Linked DNA regions of Homo sapiens: region 2 is linked to region 1. Evidence: promoter capture Hi-C in human tissues and cell types (Jung and others, 2019). All regions are on one chromosome and are shown on one strand. The core of a region is centred on a gene start or on the middle of the fragment in contact, and the rest is flanking DNA. Distances in the headings are between cores, read along the strand shown.

What was found. The method cuts DNA at HindIII sites, captures the fragments that hold promoters and counts their contacts. A contact is called where the count stands out against the background at its distance.
Region 2: a contact is called between a fragment that was not itself captured here and the fragment with the promoter of PRKACG in region 1, in 1 of the 25 tissues and cell types used here (hippocampus).

What each region holds. Positions count from the first base shown.
Region 1 is chr9:69,012,477-69,015,827 of GRCh38, reverse strand. It overlaps PRKACG (protein kinase cAMP-activated catalytic subunit gamma), which reads left to right and starts at 1,715. Exons shown (of 1, transcript NM_002732.4): 1 at 1,715-3,324. The coding sequence starts at 1,736. The coding sequence ends at 2,791. The HindIII fragment of the contact is 11,337 bases long and covers 1-3,351 here.
Region 2 is chr9:68,951,056-68,954,406 of GRCh38, reverse strand. All of the region lies in intron 14 of PIP5K1B (phosphatidylinositol-4-phosphate 5-kinase type 1 beta), which reads right to left. LOC101927069 (a long non-coding RNA gene) reads left to right here. Exons shown (of 3, transcript NR_110647.1): 3 at 1-1,319. Among named protein-coding and RNA genes, the nearest start is that of PRKACG, 61 kb to the left of the region's middle. RefSeq lists an enhancer at 3,325-3,351. The HindIII fragment of the contact is 9,571 bases long and covers 1-3,351 here.

The DNA of each region.
Region 1 (3,351 bases), core at 466-2,965:
ACAGGCGGTGTAGCCAGGGTGGGTAGGCAGAATTAGCTGTCAAACTTAAAGGGCAAGATGGAGAGAAAATAGGAGGATAAATGGGTATTCCTGTAGCTCAGTGTTTATGATGTAGGACAGAATCTTTGTACAGAATTGACTGGGGAGAGCAGCTCAGAACCCACCCTGTGATGGCTGAGTGCTGGCAGTCTTCTGGAGGGTGTGTGGGGCGGCTGACATGGTGGCCTGGGGGAGTGATGGAAGGCCCATCATCTATGTACTTTGACTTCTCATAAACTCCTGTGGCATGTTTTTAATAATTGATAGAATAAGTAAACAGAAAGTCAATAAGAATATAGAAGACCTGAACACTACTACTAGCCAACTTGACCTAAGTGACATTTGTAGAACACTGTATCCTCAAACAGCAGAATACACCAGAATATACATTCTTCTCAAGTGCATATGGGCCATCTACCAAGATAGATCATATTCTGGGCCATAAAATGAGCCCCAAGAAGTGTAAAACATTTTAGGTCACACAGAGTATGTTTTCTAACAATGGAATTAAATCAGAAATCAATAGGAAAATTCTTGAAAAATCCCCAAGTATTTGGAAACGAAATAATATACTTTTAAATAGCTTATCTGTCAAAGAAGATGAAAAGGGAGCTTAGAAAATATTTTGAGCTGGATGAAAAGGAAAATACAACATACCAAAATTTGTGGGATGCTGCAAAAAATAATACTTAGGAGGAAATTTATAGCACTAAGTGATTGTAATAGAAGAAAGATTTCAAATCAGTGACCTTAGTTCCCACCTTAGGAAATAAGAGCAATTAAACCCAAAGCAAACAGAAGAAAGGAAATCATATGTATGTGTTAAAATAAAACATTACATGCAGTAAAACTGAATTTTGGGGGGAAGTATACAGTTCTTTGAGGTGTTTGTTTGTTTGTTTGTTTGTTTTTGAGATGGAGTTTCACTCTTATTGCCCAGGCTGGTGTGCAGTGGCACGATCTCTGCTCACTGCAACCTCTGCCTCCCAGGTTCAAGCAATTCTCCTGCCTCAGCCTCCCGAGTAGCTGGGATTACAGGCATGCGCCACCACGCCTGGCTAATTTTTTTGTATTTTTAGTAGAGACGGGGTTTCACTATGGTGGTCAGGCTGGTTTCGAACTCCTGACCTTGTGATCCGCCCGCCTCGGCCTCCCAAAGTGTTGGGATTACAGGCTTTAGCCACTGCGCCCGGCCAGTTCTATGAGTTTTAAAACAAATGTAGACCACCACCCAATACATTGTAACCACCAGCACAATCAGGATACAAACATGTCCCACCACTTCCCACATTCCCTCAGGCTGTCCCTTCATAGTCCAACCGTCCCCTAACCCCAAGCCCTGGCAATCACTGATCTGTTCTCTCACACTATAGTTTTGCCTTTTCTGGAATGTCATAGAAATGGATTCATACAGTAAGTCTCCTTTAGAGTTGGCTTCTCTCACTTGCATAATGCCTTTTGGATTTATCCATATTGTTGAGTGCAGCGGCGTGATCTTGGCTCACTGAAGCCTTGACCTCCCAGGCTCAAGAAATCCTCCCATCTCAGCCTCCCATGTAGCTGGGAATATAAGCGGAGGCCGGGCGGGGGTCGCAGCGCCGCAGCCAGCGCAGCCAGCCCCAGGGGGCGCCATCTCCGCCGCTGCCGCCGCCGCCGCCGCCGCCGCGAGACCCCCGCCCCTGCCGCCGCCACCGCCATGGGCAACGCCCCCGCCAAGAAGGACACCGAGCAGGAGGAGAGCGTGAACGAGTTCCTAGCCAAAGCCAGAGGAGATTTCCTCTACAGATGGGGAAACCCCGCTCAAAACACCGCCAGCTCGGATCAGTTCGAACGGCTCAGGACGCTGGGCATGGGCTCCTTCGGGCGGGTGATGCTGGTGAGGCACCAGGAGACCGGCGGCCACTACGCCATGAAGATCCTCAACAAGCAGAAGGTGGTGAAGATGAAGCAGGTCGAGCACATACTGAACGAGAAGCGCATCCTGCAGGCGATCGACTTTCCGTTCCTCGTCAAGCTCCAGTTCTCCTTTAAGGACAACTCCTACCTGTACCTGGTGATGGAGTACGTGCCGGGTGGGGAGATGTTCTCCCGCCTACAGCGCGTCGGAAGGTTTAGCGAGCCCCATGCCTGTTTCTATGCCGCCCAGGTCGTCCTGGCCGTCCAGTACCTACACTCGCTCGACCTCATCCACCGCGACCTGAAGCCCGAGAATCTCCTCATCGACCAGCAGGGCTACCTGCAGGTGACGGACTTCGGTTTCGCCAAGCGCGTGAAGGGCCGCACTTGGACCTTGTGCGGGACCCCAGAGTACCTGGCCCCCGAGATCATCCTGAGCAAAGGCTACAACAAGGCCGTGGACTGGTGGGCCCTAGGGGTGCTCATCTATGAGATGGCCGTGGGCTTCCCACCCTTCTACGCCGACCAGCCCATCCAGATCTACGAGAAGATCGTCTCTGGGAGGGTGCGGTTTCCCTCCAAACTCAGCTCTGACCTCAAGCATCTGCTGCGGAGCCTGCTGCAGGTGGACCTCACCAAGCGCTTCGGAAACCTCAGGAACGGGGTTGGCGACATCAAGAACCACAAGTGGTTCGCCACAACCAGCTGGATCGCCATCTATGAGAAGAAGGTGGAAGCTCCCTTCATCCCGAAGTACACAGGCCCTGGGGATGCCAGTAACTTTGACGACTACGAGGAGGAAGAGCTCCGGATCTCCATCAATGAGAAGTGTGCCAAGGAGTTTTCTGAGTTTTAGGGGTGTGCTTGTGCCCCTGTGGGTTTTCTTTCCTTTTTGTTTTTGGTGGTTTGGGGGATGGGAGGGTTGGATTGAACAGCCAGAGGGCCCCAGAGTTCCTTGTATCTAATTTCATCCTCACCCCACCCTCCAGGGTTGGGGGAGCAGGAAGCCCAGATATTTGGAGGAACAGAAACACCAGCTGCTCCCTCACCCCCCCCCATGCCTTCCTGGTCCCTCTGTGCTTCTCTCTTTCTCCTCCCACAGGGTCCCCCTTGCCCCAGCCCCCTTCTGCCTGTTTTAAACGAGTTTCTCAGCTCTATTCAGGCCAGGTCTTGCTGTTGTATCAAGGGACACGGTGTGGAAAGAGGGGCTCAAACTTAACTCCAGCCCTGAACAGGCACCACTTACTAAGAGAGGATGAATGAAAAGCACACCTACCCTTTGGCGTAATCCTGCCTGGGAAGGAGAGAGGTTTAGTGCCATGTTCAGTGGGCTGTTTGCTAGAATAAAAAATTAAAACAAAAAACAATTAAAATCTTATTTAAGTTCCACCAGTGTCCCCTTTCCTCCTTCCTCTA
Region 2 (3,351 bases), core at 609-3,108, 62 kb after region 1:
TCTCTGGGCCTCTCTTAATCTGTAGACGAAGAAACAGAGGCAGATGAAACACATCTCATCTAATTTTGCAGACACGCTCAACCCTCTACACTACAATAAAGGGTTAAAAAAGGACATAAACCTATAAAGAGGGGAGAAGATTGGAAGAAGCTAAGAGAGACAAAATTTAGGAGTCTGAAAGGCATATGAACAGGTAGTAATCAATTTAGCAAACTTGAGAGGAAAATCCTGAGCTACCACTGGGAAAAGCAAAGAAATATATAGCCAGGCAAAAACCTCTCCCCATTCCAACAGAAGACTGGAGGATTTTATTTTTTTTCTCCCTGCGGAAAACACAGAACAGGATGTGTGGACCCAGGGACACCAGAAGCAATTGAGGTAAAAGAAAGAGAGGAAGTAAATATGTATATACTAGATGCTAAGACACCTGTTCCTGCCAGATGTCCCAGAAGGCTGACAGCCAGGCCTTTCTCCTCCAAGCAAGAAACTGGAAGCATCTCCTATAGGGAGTCTGACCAGCTCAATAGCTTGCTGGTCAACAAGCTCTGCTCAAGTGCTTAAGTTTCCAGTCAGGGATTTTTTTTTTTTTTTTTTTTTTTTTAAGACAGAGTCTTGCTCTGTTGCCCAGGCTGGAGTACAATGGTGCAATAACAGCTCACTGCAGCCTCAACCACCCAGGCTCAAGCCATCTGAGCCTCTGAGTAGCTGGGACTACAGGTGTGTCACTGCACTTGGCTAATTTTAATTTTTTTTGTAGGGATGGGGTCTCACTAGTATTGCCCAGGCTGGTCTCGAACTCCTGGGCTCCAACAGTCCTCCTACCTCGGCCTCCAAATATGCTGGGATTATAGGTGTGAACCACCACACCTGGCCTCTAATCAGTTTTCTAGTCTCCCACTCAAGCCTTAGTTGAGCAGACAAATGAAGATTTCCAAAAATCTGAGGAAAACCTCCAGTATAGAACATGTAGACTACAAAGAGAAAAAGGCAGCCTGGATGAAAACCGAGACTAAAAAGGGAGAAGAAACAAAATTCAGGGCAAAACAAAAAACATAATCCTAATATCTTCAGGAAAAAAGAGAAATTACAATCATGAAAAAAGGAAAGATTGCTAAAAAATAAAATCTCAGCGAACAAAAAAAGAATTCTTATAAAACATGGTAATGGAAATTAAAAACTCAGTGGAAGGATTAGGAGATGAAGTTGAGGAAATCTCTCAGAAACTAGGACAGAAACATAAATAGATGGGACTGAAGACAGAAAAGTAGAGAAAATTGGAAGACAAATCCAGGATATTCTGTATGCATAAAAGGAATTACAAAAAGGAAAAAGAAAATAGAGAGGAGGAAATAAGAAAATAGTTTAGAAAATTTCCCCAAACTCAAAACATGAGTTTGCAGGTTGAAAAGGTCCCCTGAGTGCTTAGCATGCTGGCTGAAAATAGACCTGCACCAAGGCCTAGCATCATGAAATACTGAGACTCTGAGAGAAAATCAAAGAGTTTACAGGTTTCTGCAATAATAATAATAATAATAGGAAGAAAGAAAGAAAGGAAGGAAGAAAGGAAGGAAGGAAGGAAGGCAGGCAGGCAGGCAGGCAGACAGGCAGACAGGCAGGCAAAGAAAGCAAGCCATTTACAGAAGATCAGAAATCAGAACAGCACTGGATTTCTCAATGGTAATTGGAAACTAGAAGACAATGGAGCCAAGCCTTCACCATGTTGAAAAAAAAAATCCAAAATATTTGCAATCTAGAATTCTATACTAGTTAATCTATCAATCAAGTGTTAGGGTTAGAATAAAGACTTAAGACATGCAAGATCTCAAATATTTTGCCTGCAATGAATATTTTTCATACTGGAGGATTTTCTTCTGGAAAATGTGTTCCACCAAAATGAGGGAGTAAACCAAGAAAGAGGAAGAAGCAAAGAGGAAGATGTAGGAGATGACAAACAACGGAACTGATACAGACAAGAGGTTACTAGAATCCCCAGAATGATGGAGCAGAGAGGCCCCAAAGTAACATTTGTACATCAGGTCCTAGAGGGCAACCAGTTCAGTCCAGGCTGGTCAGAAGTGTCTGGCGGAAACTTCTGCAAGACAATAAAAGGAACAGAACCTCATGCACTTAAATGGTTTGAGAAGAAATGAAGACACTGGTGGAAAGCTTAGGGTTCTATTAAGGAAAAATACACAGAAAACTAAGCAAACCGAAGAACAAGGCAGTCATTTATTACAATAAAAACAAAAAGTCACACAGGAAAGGAAACTGAAACATAGTATATGACACTATTCACAAAGCCATAATAAAACACTCAATATCGATCGGACTACAGTCAAGATGTAACTATACAGGGAAACTGGAAGGGTGTAGGAGGAGGGGGTGGGAACAGTACACATACGTGGTATGTGTCGGGTGGAGAAAAGACAGCTAAATCTTCGTCTTCTATAGTGGGCAGTTATTAGCTAATGCCTACACCCAATAGATCAAGCAATAACAATATAAGCATGTTATTTAGAAAAACCAAAGTAATTGCCAAAGGAATCAGCTCAAAGAGTTGAAGGTGATTGCACATGAAGACGTAGGGGGAGGTGGACTACGGCTTGCTCTTTTTCTTAACACATGTTACACGACTATTTGTTAAACTCTGGGCATAGAGTTTTGTTACAAAAATAATTTATAAATTTTAAAATCAATCAATACCTTTTTTAATAAATAAAAGGGCTGGATGACATGATGGCCAAAGTTCCCTCTCATCTCCAAAGCTCCGTGATTCTTTCAGGATGAGTTTTACCACTTAGGTTGGAAAGGCAGGAGGGTGAACAGGGAAAAGGCGAAGGCTCGACCGGTTCCCTAAATGAGCTTTGACCTGGCCTTCGAATACCTGGCCTCTCTCCTGTCACAACTCAGTGACCACACAGAAAGCAGCAGGTGAGGGTGGTTGGAATTAGGAGGACACCAACTGAAATGCACTCATACATAAATAAAAGACAAAAAATCTTCTCCCAGACAAAGTGCTTAGTCTGAACCATTCTTCCAGTGTGATGAGAAGCAATGAAAGAAAAGACAGAGAAACTCTACCATTATTTTTTTCCCCATGTAGCCTTCAGGATGAAATTTGCATTATAGCCAAATCCTTCATTTTGAAAACAAATCTGGTCATTTTTAAGTTATTTGTGACCTTCCACACACTAATTTTTAATAGGGCTGGCTGGAAAAATAATGAGCTCCATTACTTCATTACACATGTCACCTTTATTACTTTATCCTTGAAAACAGGTTATTAAATGATTCCATTTTAGATTAATATTATTCTGAATGGAGAGTTTAACATTGTCTCCTAGTTCCCTC